Regions from separate parts of the Homo sapiens genome. Here regions 1 and 2 are each linked to region 3. The links are contacts of gene promoters, found by promoter capture Hi-C in blood cells and fetal thymus (Javierre and others, 2016). All regions are on one chromosome and are shown on one strand. Each heading gives the region's core, a stretch centred on a gene start or on the middle of the fragment in contact. The rest is flanking DNA. Distances are from core to core; before and after follow the strand shown. Region 1 has its middle 17 kb from the start of FOXL3-OT1. Region 2 overlaps DNAAF5 (dynein axonemal assembly factor 5). Region 3 holds the start of PDGFA (platelet derived growth factor subunit A).

Evidence for each region. Contacts are between HindIII fragments. The CHiCAGO score rates a contact against its expected background, and 5 or more counts as called.
Region 1: a fragment that was not itself captured here is called in contact with the fragment with the promoter of PDGFA in region 3 in 1 of 17 cell types (activated CD4 T cells); the score reaches 5.5 in activated CD4 T cells.
Region 2: a contact is called between a fragment that was not itself captured here and the fragment with the promoter of PDGFA in region 3, in 2 of 17 cell types (activated CD4 T cells and naive CD8 T cells). The highest score is 6.4, in activated CD4 T cells.

What each region holds. Positions count from the first base shown.
Region 1 is chr7:305,997-310,330 of GRCh38, reverse strand. No RefSeq gene overlaps it. Among named protein-coding and RNA genes, the nearest start is that of FOXL3-OT1, 17 kb to the right of the region's middle. The HindIII fragment of the contact is 813 bases long and covers 1,628-2,440 here.
Region 2 is chr7:757,144-761,197 of GRCh38, reverse strand. All of the region lies in intron 6 of DNAAF5 (dynein axonemal assembly factor 5), which reads right to left. Among named protein-coding and RNA genes, the nearest start is that of PRKAR1B, 32 kb to the right of the region's middle. The HindIII fragment of the contact is 7,680 bases long and covers 1-4,054 here.
Region 3 is chr7:517,790-522,294 of GRCh38, reverse strand. PDGFA (platelet derived growth factor subunit A) reads left to right here and starts at 2,449. Exons shown (of 6, transcript NM_033023.5): 1 at 2,449-3,356. The coding sequence starts at 3,294. It overlaps PDGFA-DT (PDGFA divergent transcript), which reads right to left and starts at 1,904. Exons shown (of 3, transcript NR_033963.1): 1 at 1-1,904. RefSeq lists silencers at 1-114, 1,980-2,319, 2,420-2,509, 2,790-2,929, 3,390-3,479 and 1 more and enhancers at 1-891, 2,736-3,657. The HindIII fragment of the contact is 35,865 bases long and covers 1-4,505 here.

The DNA of each region.
Region 1 (4,334 bases), core at 785-3,284, 210 kb after region 3:
CAAAAAACAGAACAACAATAACAAAAAAAAATTAAAGGTTAAACCCCACCACACCACCCATATCAGGGTCTCTCAACCTTGGCACTGTTGACTATCGACATTTAGGGCTGGATTATTCGTTGTGGTGGGGACTGTAGGGTGTTTGCTGGGATCCTTGCCCTTTCTCACTGGGAACCCCTCAGTCATGACAACCAAAAATATATTCAGACTTTGCCGAATTTGCCCTGGAGGTAAACCACCCCCGCTGAGAGCACTGCCTGCGTGGGACAGGGCAGCAGGAGAGCAAAGGGGTGGAGACTCGCAGAGACGATGGCTGTGGCACCTTCAGGAGGGATGCGAGGACAGCCGTCATGGCCCCTTTCTCATCTGAGCTCTCAGTTGGTTTTTCCAGCCACTGCTGTCCACATTCCCTTTGTCCTTGAGGACTTGGGTTCTTTTGATGAATTGAAGGGCTTGGGGACCCAGTTTGTGTGGAAACAGCCCCAGGGCCTGGGCCCCGCATTTCCGTGTTTCTGTCCCACCCTCTTCCCTGCCCAGCGTTTCTCTCCACCAAGATCCCACGGCTGCACTTTCACCCAGGGCCACGCGGAAGCCGAAATCCCCACCCGAAGCCCGGGCTTTCGGTTCTCACACCTCGGTGAATTTTATTGATCTTCAAAAATCTTTGTTGAGCCTCCCCATTGTACTTTTGTTTCATATTTTGTTGTTTTTCTGTTCTCATCTCTAGTATTTTTATTCATAGGTTTGGTTCATTGCTCTTTTTCTGATGAAGAGGGACCCTTACACTGTTGATCTTTCTGCCTTTCTTCTTTTTACTGCGTTCCGTGAAGGGTGTAAGTCTCCTCCGAAGGGCTGCCTAGGCCGCATCCCACAGTTTGGCTGGGTGCATCTTCATTACCTTTTAGAACTATTTTTTTTGTTTGTTTTTTAAGACAGAGTCTCACTCTGTCAACCAGGCTGGAGTGCAATGGTGTGATCTCGGCTCACCGCAACCTCCGCCTCCTAGGTTCAAGCAATTCTCCTGCCTCAGCCTCCCGAGAAGCTGGGATTACAGGCATGCACCACCACACCCGGCTAATTTGTATTTTTAATAGAGATGAGGTTCTTCATGTTGGTCAGGCTGGTCTCAAACTCTCAACCTCAGGTGATCCACCCACCTCGGCCTCCCAAAGTGCTGGGATTACAGCCATGCACCACCACGCCTGGCTAATTTGTATTTTTAGTAGAGATAGGGTTCTCCATGTTGGTCAGGCTGGTCTCAAACTCTCAACCTCAGGTGATCCACCCACCTCGGCCTCCCAAAGTGCTGGGATTACAGGCGTGAGCCACTGCACCCGGCCACAAAATATTTTATCATTTCCATTTTGATTTCCTCTTTGAATCATGGACTATTTAGGAATGTGTTGTTTAATTTTCAGGCAGCTGGAGTTTTTCTAGTTATATTTAATCAAGTTTTAGATTAATTTTATTGTATTCAGAGAACATACTTTACAATCTGTTAAAATTTGTTGAGGCTTCTTAATGGCCCAACGTACGATCAATTTAGCAAATGTTTCATGTGAATTTGGGAGGATGGTGACTCCATGTTCTGGAGTACTGGCCTGTGTATATGACATGTGGTTAAGCTTGTTGTTAGATCTTACCATTATGAAATGTCACTCTTTATCTATAGAAAAGTTTTTAACTTTACTATCTGTTTTTTTATTTTTTTGAGACAGAGTCTCACTCTGTCACCCAGGCTGGCGTGCAGTGGCCTGATCTCAGCTCACTGCAACCTCCACCTCCCAGATTCAAACGATTCTCCTGCCTCAGCCTCCCAAGTAGCTAGGATTACAGGTGCCCACCACTATGCCCAGCTGATTTTTGTGTTTTTAGTAGAGACAGGGTTTCAGTATTTGGCCAGGCTGGTGTTGAACTCCTGACTTCAGGTGATCCACCCATCTCAGCCTCCCAAAGTGCTGGGATTACAGGCGTGAGCCACTGCACTAGTGTCTGTTTCGTCTGTTAATATAGCTACACCAACCTTCTGTTGGTTAGTGTCCTCGTGCTATATAGTTTTTTTACTTTTAACCTTTCTGTGTCCTTACAGTTAAAATGTGTCTCCTGTAAGCAACATACAGTTGATTTTTTCTTGATCTAGTCTGACCATCAGTGGGTTTTTTATCCATTTACATTTAATGGGATTTAGATCTACCCTCTTACTGTTTTGTTTTCTTTTTTGTCCATTAGTTTTTTGTTTCCTTTTTTCTTCCTTTCTTAACTTTCTTTGAATGGGTTAACATTTTTCTTCCATTATTTGTGAGTTGTATATTATTTTACTACCTCTTTTATAAGGTTTGCCCTAGCAATTATAAAATGTATTCTTGACTTATTATGGTCTAATCCAATTATTACCATTACTAATAACAGCTGTATTTATGTTGCTATAATCTTAGAAGCTTTGAATTCTACACCCTCCTCATTTTGCATTGTGGTCTTCTTGCATTTTATTTCTTTGCATATTTTAACTCCACAAGACCTAATAATTGTTGCTTTGTACAATTAATATACACCTGCATTTATCCCAAAGTTTACCGTCCTGGTTTCCCTGGCTGCATTTCCATATTTCTGTCTAACATTCTTGACCTTGGATGAGCCTTTCTGATTACCTGTGTCAGCAGTAACTTCGCTGAGCTGCTCGGCCTCAGCCAAGGCTTTTCACATGGTACTGGTATCTTTTTTAAAAATTAAATCTGCCACCCTGTGGGAAGAAAAGCCTAAAAGTGTGGACCCTGGACCCAGGCTGCCTGTGTTCAAATGCTCGCCTCACCACTTTGCTGGCTATGTGACCTCAAGCAAGTAACTTAACTTTTCTGTGCCTTGGTTTTCTCATCTGTAAAATGGGATGATGTGGTGCCTATCATAGAGGGTTGCTGTGATGATTAAATGAGTAAATATAGGTAAAGTAAAGCAGCGTCCACACGTGGTTAGCTCCATACAGTGCAAGCCATTGTCATCATCAGTGTTGCTTTTGGGTGAAGCACAATCTGAGTCTCTGAAGTTTCAAGCCATTGGTGACAGATCAGGGTCCACATGGCAGGTGAGGTGGAGGCCAGGCAGGCAGGGTCCCGGTGCCTGGTGGGCTCTGCACCAAAAGGAATAAAGGGAAGATTGGAATCCTTCCTCATGAACATCAGGGCCCTTCTAGGAGGTGCTGTGATCAAAATAGACGGAAATTGGTGCTTGGAAGTCAGAAATACTGGGGCAGGTGTCTCCAACCCCACCTGGAGAGGAGGGGCAGTCAGGAAAGACTTCCTGGAGGAGGCAGCCTGGGAGCTGCATCTCGGGGCACAAATAGGGGTTAGCTGAGCTGAGAGGGGGAAAGATGCCCTCCCTAAGCACAGGAGCTAACATTTTGTTTTTTAGCAGACGAAGAACAAGGCAGAGAGCAGCTCCGGAGGCTGACAGAGAAGCAGCGAGGAAAGCAGGCTTGGCTGGGGGAGCTGAGGGTGCCCGGTTCTGGGTGGGGGAGCTGAGGGTGCCCAGTTCTGGGTGGGGGAGTGTGGTCAGGGTCTCTCCAGGCAGAGAGGGAACAAGGCCACTTGTATCTACTGCCGTCACAGGAATGTTAAAAAAATAAAGAACTGGCTGGGCATGGTGGCTTGTAATCTCAGCACTTTGTGAGGCCAAGGTGGGTGGATCACTTGAGCCCAGGGATTTGAGAACAGCCTGGGCAACATAGGAAAACCCCGTCTCTAATATATGATAAATATTAGATATATAGTGTGTATACACCCGCACACAAAATTAGCTGGGCGTGGTGGCACCTACTTGGGAGGCTGAGGTGGGAGGATCACCTGAGTCCAGGAGGTTGACGCTGCAGTGAGCGGTGATCACGCCACTGTACGTACTCCAGCCCGGGCAATGAAGTGAGACCTTGTCTTAAAAAAAAAAAAAAAAAAGGCGGGAGAAGGGATTATTTTCAAAAATGGGAGGACTGGCCAAACATAACTATACCTTTTTAAATTGTTATTTAAAATTTTTAATGTTTACTTTGAGTAATTTGACACATTTCTCTCTCACACACATGTCTGCGTGCAATCTCATCTCATAAAGCGTCCTTGTCTGCAGCCCTCACACATGTGAAGCTTGGAGCCCCCTGCGTCCCGACGCCTGAGACCCTGGGCTGGGATTCCGGCCGTAGGAAGCAGCAAGGCTGCCCTGGGCAGGAACTTAGCTCTGTTTGGAGCCCCTCCCTGGGGCTGGGAGCCACCTGGCCAGAGGGTGCCCAGGGCCGGGACAGAGAGGGCAGAGGCCCGGGCTGGAGGGCGCAGGACACAGGGTGTGCGGGAGGT
Region 2 (4,054 bases), core at 635-3,134, 240 kb before region 3:
GGGAAAACTGAACACAGACTGGGAGCTAAGGAATCTGTGCTTATTTTGTGAAATGTGAACAGGCACTTGAGCTATGTGGTGGAGAAGCTGCGTTAGTGATGCACACGGCACCTGTGAGGGAAATGACGGCGCACTGCATTATCTGCTTTACAACATGCCCAAGTTCTCCCCGCCCTCCAAAGTTAAAAAGAAAAGTGGCCCCAGGCAGGCAGAACACGCATGCCAAGGGCTGGTCAGCGCTGAAGCTGGCAGTCGCTCTGCTGCCTGCCCCTCTTCTGTGCATTTTTGAGCTTTTCTATAACACCAAGTTTTAAGACAAATAAAATTCTATGGCTTAACATGTTTACTGATTGACGGGGAGGTGGAGTCTCAGCTCTGCACCTACGGCTGCGCTGGATGAATGGCTTCCCCTCCCGGCTCCAGCCTCATCCACTGTGAATCAGCCAGGCTCTGAAGCCCGCAACACAGCAGGCGTGTGCTGGACCCAAGAATTCCTAAGGCTTTGCGTGTGCTTACTTCTTTCTAAATAAATTTTAACTTATTTTTTAGAGACAGGGTCTTGCTCTGTCGCCCAGGCTGGAGTGCAGTGGTGCAATCGTGGCTAACTGCAGTCTCAAACTCCTAGCCTTAAGTGATCCTCCTGCCGTGGCCTCTCAAAGTGCTGGGATCATAGATAAGAACCACCACGCCTGGCCTGTATTTACTTCTTATAACGTCCCTCTAATGTCTATTTTATGTATGTTTCATAAAGTACAGAGTGAGTCAGGACCGTGGCCATGTAATTTAAACACGTGATTTATCAACAGTGTACATATATTGGAGGCCTATGCTTAAAAACTGTTTTTACTAATGGGGGTGCAAGTTCAAAGAAGTTTGGTAATTATTTGGCTAGACAATGGGTTGGTTCTAAATTTCCTAATCAGCTCTAAAACTCTAAGCCTCATTCCCCACTGACGTAAATCATGGAAGACTAAACAAAACACTCCCACTGTACTACAGCAGCGTTCTGTCCTTGCACCCCGGCCCCGCCCTGACCCACAGAAGACACAGAGCTGCATGGCTCCATCTCCCTCGGAGCTGGAGGAGCCGCGCGGCCCCGTCTCCCTCAGAGCTGGAGGAGCCGCGCGGCCCCGTCTCCCTCGGAGCTGGAGGAGCCGTGTGGCCCTGTCGTGGCCCCAACTCCCACAGAAGCCACAGATTTGTTTTTATTCCATTCCTGATTTTTCCCACAGCCCAATTTCTCTAAGGCCTGTACTAACTGGCTGACTTCTGAGGACAATATCTGGCTAGTTTCTAGAATGACCTGTCATGTACATTTCAGGAGCGATCATCTTTTCGGTTAAAATCAAAAGGCAGGTGCGTTTAGAAGACACAGCCCCTCCTGGCTGACCACACCTCCAAGCACAGGAACAAACAGGGAATCAGGCATCCTTTGCAGCAAGCACCACCCTCCTGCCACGAACGCAGCACCGTCTCTGAGGAAGTGACAAGACTTCACATTTATAGATTTCTCTATATTTGACCAGACAATTTTCAGTGTCTGCCTACATACAACGCACACACACAGAACGAAAAAGAAAAAAGATACAGCAGGAAATAATTCTCAGTATTTTTTGAAATACTATTTCAAACATTGTTTTCTGAAACAATGTTATCTAAGACTGCAAAGGTTTTTAATTCAGAAAAGCACAAGAGACTCCTATTTCAACAATGGCAATGGCATCCCACAACTGCTGGCTTCCCTGTGTGAGAAGCAAATCGGTGAGTTACCCATTTCCTCACTCTAGACACCTGTCCTAAACTCCTTCCCAGGAGACTCCAGTTCCCGTCTGTCGAGCTCTAGGGGACCTACTGGGCCCGAGACACCTGGAAGTACCTACTGCTAAAGCCAGATTTCCTGTGAACCCCAGGGCAGGGAGTGAAGCCAGGCTCAGTTTAGAATACATTTACACGGACTTCTCTGTTTAAACACGAGCTTTTAAAACAATTTCGGTTTGTTCTTGAAAGACATTTTCAACCTGTTCTCATAGCTACTGGAGAATAGCTGTGGGAAACATAATCGACTTCCCAAATGACATGACACAAAGCCCGGCCGGCCGCGGGAAGAGCACAGGGGCGTGGGAAGAGCACAGAACCACGGGCCTGATTCTGACTGAGACCTGAGTACCTTCACCCTTTCTTGCCAAAAATTTAAGTCTGTTAAGGAGTAAAATGGGGCCAGGTGCGGTGGCTCACACCTGTAATCCCAGCACTTTGGGAGGCCGAGGTGGGCTGATCACTTGAAGTCAGGAGTTCAAGACCAGCCTGGCCAACATGGAGAAACCCCGTCTCTACTAAAAACACAAAAATTAGCCGGGTGTGGTGGTGCATGCCTGTAATCCCAGCTACTTGGGAGGCTGAGGCAGGAGAATCGCTTGAACCTGGGAGGCGGAGGCTGCAGTGAGCCAAGATTGCGCCACTGCATTCTAGCCTGGGTGACAGAGCAAGACTCTGTCCCAAAAAGTAAATAAATAAAAATAAATAAAAAAAAATTACCCAGGTGTGGTGGTGCACACCTGTAGTCCCAGTGACTCAGGAGGCTGAGGTGGGAGGATCAACCTAAAACAAAAAAATAAAAACAAGAAAGGAGTGAAATGTACGTCTTGGGTTTTCACTGTGACTGGCTCCTTGGCCAAAGGGCCGACACACGTTCGCAGCCTGGAAGGTTGAGGCTGGCTTCCCAGGGGTCCCGTGTGACTGGACTTTGTCAGAAAGACGTCTCTGTTTGAAAGATTGTGATTAAATTTTTCCTCGATAAAACTGGAAGATGGGGAGCCAAATGCACAACTGTGGGATGACACAATTCCGTTTTCCTGTAACCAACATGGAGATGTGAAAACTACACTTTCTTTGCTATAAAGTTTGTGAGATAAGGATTTAGGCACCTGTGCACATTTTCAAGTTATGCCCTTCTAGGAAAAAATGCTTCTGGCTTGCAAATCTGTATACAGAAATCAAAGGCATCCTCATAACCCCTCGTGGGTGAAGGAAAGTGGAGAACTGACACACATTCGATGATGTGTTAAAAACGGGTTTTGGGAAAAGCTGAAGCATGGCTGAAATGCCATGAGCACGCGGCCCGGGCCCCTCCCCCGCTCCCTTCCTTACCCCAGCTCCGTTTCCTTCCCTCTATGTATTCCAGGAACTGCTTACAGGTTTCTTAAAACAGTTTACAAAAATGACTGTCAACAGCCCCACCTCTCGTTCTGAGGACGGAGAGGGAGCCTGACACAGGACAGGCCGGGCTGAGAGCACAGTGGCAAGTCCCCGTGCCCCAGGCCAGCTTTGGGGCCATAGAAGCCGCCGGAAACGATCGAGCCGGAGCAAGTGCCTCCAGGGGTGAGCTGAGGCCCGCCCTGCATGGCACGGCCGCCTGGTGGGGGCAGCCCTGTGTCCCAGAAATATCTGGGGTGCTGAGTCCAACACACACACTGACAGGGACCACTCACCTTCAAATGAAAGCAAAGCCATCACCTCTTCTTCCATGGAATACAACTATGGATTATTCCAAACAATTGAGCCCAACTACCCAGGCTGTTCCAGCTTCTGAGCTCAAGGATTTGCTGCTCAATTTAAAATTAAACAAATGTCTCTGGCAAATCCTCAGCTGGGCTGTGAGAAGCACAGATCGGAACGCCAGGCAGGGCTGATGGGGAACAGGCTGTCAGTGCCCCCTGAGGACGTGCGATCTGTGCAGGTACCCTGGGGACTGGATGGGATGGTGGACGTGCGACCACGCTCCTCAGGGGTGGGATGACGTGGACCCCACATCTACCCCCAGCAGCATGGGCCAGAGGGTCCCGGCCATGGACGCCTCCTGAGTCATCAAACACGTGAACTGTGGTGTGTGGCCAAGAAAGGGGCAGCAACGAATGTAAACGTGAGCGGCCGCCTGCAGCTGGGGCTGGGGCTGGGGCTGGAGCTCTGCACAGCCCAGGACGAGGCCCCGGAACAAGGGCTATCAGCGAGGGCACTCCGGTTACTGCAGGTGTTTCCGATGGCCCGGCCTGGCGGC
Region 3 (4,505 bases), core at 1,200-3,699:
CCCCCTCCCCAGGGGCTGCAATGAGGACGCTGGGAGTTTGAATGGAAACGAAGGCCGGGGAGGGGGGTCCGCGCGGGCGTGGGTTTTTTATCCAAGTCGGTGACCTCTTGGTTAAGTCAGCCCTGCGGTTTCAACGCCCAATCCCCCCAAAAAAGCCTGTGGGGGTCCACGTCTCCTTGTGTCTTCCGGGGATCCGGCGGAGAATGTGGCGGGGCCGGGCAGGGGGGTCCCAGTCCCACGCCGGGTGCGTCGTGCCCCGAGTCTCCCCAGAAGGCGGCTGTCGCGCGGCTGCACAAGTTTTCGCCTCCCTCGCGCGGCCGCTGTTGTTGTGGTCGCCATGGCGACGGGTCGCGGTTTTATTTTTAATAGCGGCCGGCGATTAGAGAGATGCCTGCACCGCTTTCGCCTAAGCTCTGCGTCCCCCGCGGGTGAAGCACCCACGCCCCGCCCCAGCCCCCGCCTCGCTCCAGCGCCCCTTGCACGTCCCCAGGTGGCCCTAAACTCTAGCTGGGCGCACCCGTAGCTCCAGGCCGGGCAGGGGAGCCGAGGGAAGCAGCCATCTAGGCCCTCAGAGGCGGCGAGGACCCCCAGGATCCCTCAAGCTGGGAGGGACGGGTACCCCATCCCCAATACAACGCGACCTTCCTCCTTGCCTTCCACACCGTCTTACCGAGTCCTCTAACCCCACAGAGGTGTCCTCGGGCCCCCTCTGCGCGCGAGCAGTCCGAGGCCCAGGAAGACAGGATGCGCGCCACTCCGGGATAACTGGCCGAAGAATGAGGCCGGGGTCCGGCCTGCGTCCTGGCCCTGCGAGTCCGGCTCTTTCCAGAAGCCATGCAGTGGGTGTCCCCTCCCAAGCCGCAAGTTCCCCCTGGAGGGACAAGGCCTGGCTTTAAGGGGCTCCTCCACGTTTCCAAGGCTCCCCTGGTTCTGTCCCGGTCCCGCTTGGTCCTGACCACCCAGAGGGCATGCTTGACCGCGGGGGTCGTGGTGTGGGGCTGCGGCCAACGGAAGGGAGAGACGTGGGGAGGGGGCCTGCAGGTGTGTGGAAGGGCGCGTGTAGACGCGACCCACTGGGAGCGGAGGGAGAGGCGTCGCTCCCCAAATATTTGGGGGAAGGGGAGAGCCCCCGAAGCGCTCTCCGGATTCGGCCTTTGAAATGCTAGAGCTGGCCTAGCTGGGGATGAAAGACCGCCCGCGGGGCTGCGCCTTAACGGCCTTTGTCTGGAGGGAGGGCGACCGCGACGGGGGCAGGGGTTTAATCGACAGGGTTGGGGGTGACGGCTGGGCCGGGCGGGATTCTCCGCTGCTCACCCAAGGAAGCGTCTCCTGGGCTCCAGGGGCCTAGGCCGTCTAGCCTCGGGGTCTGCACAGCACGCCACCCCGCTGGACCCGGTACCAGGACGCGTAGACCCCCTGGCAGGGCACTGACGAGCACCTGGACCTGTAGTCAGGGTCCAATCCCTCCTGGTCTAGGGAGGCGAAATCCATCCAGCCCAGGCGCACCCGCCCTTTCTCGGCGTGGGAGCCGTCTAGCCACGCTCAGACCTCGGCCTCCGCGCGCGTTCCTCCCCCGCATCGCGCTCTGAGCTGCGCCTCGGCCGGAGGTGGCGCTCTGTGCGCCCCACGGATCCCGACGCGGGAGGCTCAGAACCCGGGGGACCCTCACCGGTGGCTCCTTTCCCTTCCATCCCCTCGACTTCCCGGCTCAGGGCGCGGCCCTGCCTTCGGCGCGGGAGTGGGGGACTGGGGGGCGCGGGGTCCCAGGGTGGGGACGAGGCGGGCTGCAGGCCCTTTCCCCGACTGGAGCTCGCTCCCAAGTGGAAATGTGGGTGGAGGGTCCTCATTCAGATGCCCCAGGCCTCGGATCCTGGGCGGGGGCGCGTGGCAGCCGCCAGGTGAGTGCCCCAAACCCGCCCCCCTCCTTCCCCAAAGACTGACTCCCCCTCCTTTTATGGAGAGAGGAAGGCTGGGGCCCTGGATCCGAACCGTGGAGAGCGGCCGGAGCGCCGGGGCGGGGGCGGGGACCGGCTCTCTGGCCCTTTTTGGCGCAGCAGCTCTGGGCGCTGCCCGCTGCCGCCGCTGGGGCCCGAGAGAGGCGAGCCGGCGACGGCGGCGCTTCTGCGGCGGCCTCCTCCCTCCCCACCCGGTGCCGCAGGATTGCAGCTGGCACTGGAGGGTGGGCAAGCTCGAGGGAGGGGCGCGGAGCCCCGGCGCGGAGCCGGGCGCGGGGCTTTGATGGATTTAGCTGCTTGCGCGAGCGCGTGTGTGCTCCCTGCCGCGGCGGCGGCGCCCGGGCCCTGCCGGGTCCGCACGAACCCCGAGCGCTTCCGAGGTGCGGGTCCCAGGCCCGGAATCCGGGGGAGGCGGGGGGGGGGGGCGGGGGCGGGGGCGGGGGAGGGGCGCGGCGGCGGCGCTATAACCCTCTCCCCGCCGCCGGCCGGCTCCACACGCGCGCCCTGCGGAGCCCGCCCAACTCCGGCGAGCCGGGCCTGCGCCTACTCCTCCTCCTCCTCTCCCGGCGGCGGCTGCGGCGGAGGCGCCGACTCGGCCTTGCGCCCGCCCTCAGGCCCGCGCGGGCGGCGCAGCGAGGCCCCGGGCGGCGGGTGGTGGCTGCCAGGCGGCTCGGCCGCGGGCGCTGCCCGGCCCCGGCGAGCGGAGGGCGGAGCGCGGCGCCGGAGCCGAGGGCGCGCCGCGGAGGGGGTGCTGGGCCGCGCTGTGCCCGGCCGGGCGGCGGCTGCAAGAGGAGGCCGGAGGCGAGCGCGGGGCCGGCGGTGGGCGCGCAGGGCGGCTCGCAGCTCGCAGCCGGGGCCGGGCCAGGCGTCCAGGCAGGTGATCGGTGTGGCGGCGGCGGCGGCGGCGGCCCCAGACTCCCTCCGGAGTTCTTCTTGGGGCTGATGTCCGCAAATATGCAGAATTACCGGCCGGGTCGCTCCTGAAGCCAGCGCGGGGAGCGAGCGCGGCGGCGGCCAGCACCGGGAACGCACCGAGGAAGAAGCCCAGCCCCCGCCCTCCGCCCCTTCCGTCCCCACCCCCTACCCGGCGGCCCAGGAGGCTCCCCGCGCTGCGGGCGCGCACTCCCTGTTTCTCCTCCTCCTGGCTGGCGCTGCCTGCCTCTCCGCACTCACTGCTCGCGCCGGGCGCGCTCCGCCAGCTCCGTGCTCCCCGCGCCACCCTCCTCCGGGCCGCGCTCCCTAAGGGATGGTACTGAATTTCGCCGCCACAGGAGACCGGCTGGAGCGCCCGCCCCGCGGCCTCGCCTCTCCTCCGAGCAGCCAGCGCCTCGGGACGCGATGAGGACCTTGGCTTGCCTGCTGCTCCTCGGCTGCGGATACCTCGCCCATGTTCTGGCCGAGGTTGGTGCCGCCCCCGCGCCCCGTCCCTGCGCCGGCTCCTCCGGCGCACACCCCCCGCCGGCTGGGGCGCCACGGGCTCTGCAGAGAGCGTTTTGGTTCCTGCCAGGGTGGTCGATGTTTAGATTTTCCCAACTGGGTTCTATTTTCTGCCATGCCTAAGTGTGTGTGGGGAGTTTCCAGCGTGTTGCGTCGGTCGCTCTGCCTCGGGGGGACCGGGGAGCAGCGAGGTGGACGAGTGGGCAGAAACTTCGGGGGGCGCAGTGTCCTCTCCGGGGAAGGGGAGCTGGGGCGCAGCGGGCGCTGCAGCAGCGGGGTGCGGGGAGCGGGGAAGGGGGTGTGTGTGAGCCGGCGGAGCCTGGGGAGGAGAGAAGGGCGGCGGATAAATAGGTAGGGGCGGCTGCTGCGGAAGCCCCTGGCCGGGCAGGGTGGGCAGCGCCAAGCTGCAGCCCTCGGTTCCCAGTCCCCAAGCCCGGCGGGGCTCAGGGCCGGCGCAGTCCCGCCCGCCCGGGCCTGCTTACAGGTGGCTGAGCGAGGCGAGCTGGGGCTGGGCCAGGCGTCCGCACCCTCCCACCGCGGCGTCCCCGCCCCCCCATCCCCATCCCCATCCCCATCCCCGGGAGCTTTGCTGTGATGAATGACTTTCCACAGCCCCCGTCGTGGGAACTTAGTGCTTCAGGCTCCCCAGCGACCCCCGACTCTCCTTAAAAATCGGGGAGGGGAGTGGGGGAGGCCAGAGGTGAGGGTGGTCTCCGCAGGGCACGGAGAGCTGCGCGAGGTGGAAGTTTAACCCTCGCTTTCCCTGGAGGCTTCTTCTCCCGGCCGCCGGCTGGATTTGGGCGTCTTAGTCGGCGCTAGGGCCGCGGCTGGGCCGGAGCCCGGGGTGGGGCGAGTGTGTGAGTGAGATGTGTGTGCGCGTGTGTGTGTCTGCGCGCGCGTGCGTGTGTTTGTGAGACGGAGAGACCTCTCCACGGGTTCGGCCCGGGATTCCGGGGCGTGAAATTTAAGCCCTGCCTGGATTAAAGTGTTAGGGCTGCCGTGACTCTCGCCGACCCGTGACGCATTTTAACTTGATCTTTCTAGATGTTGATCTCACTATTAAATCAGAAACTTTCGGCCCCCTCGCTGCCCCCTAGACCTTCTGTAACTGAC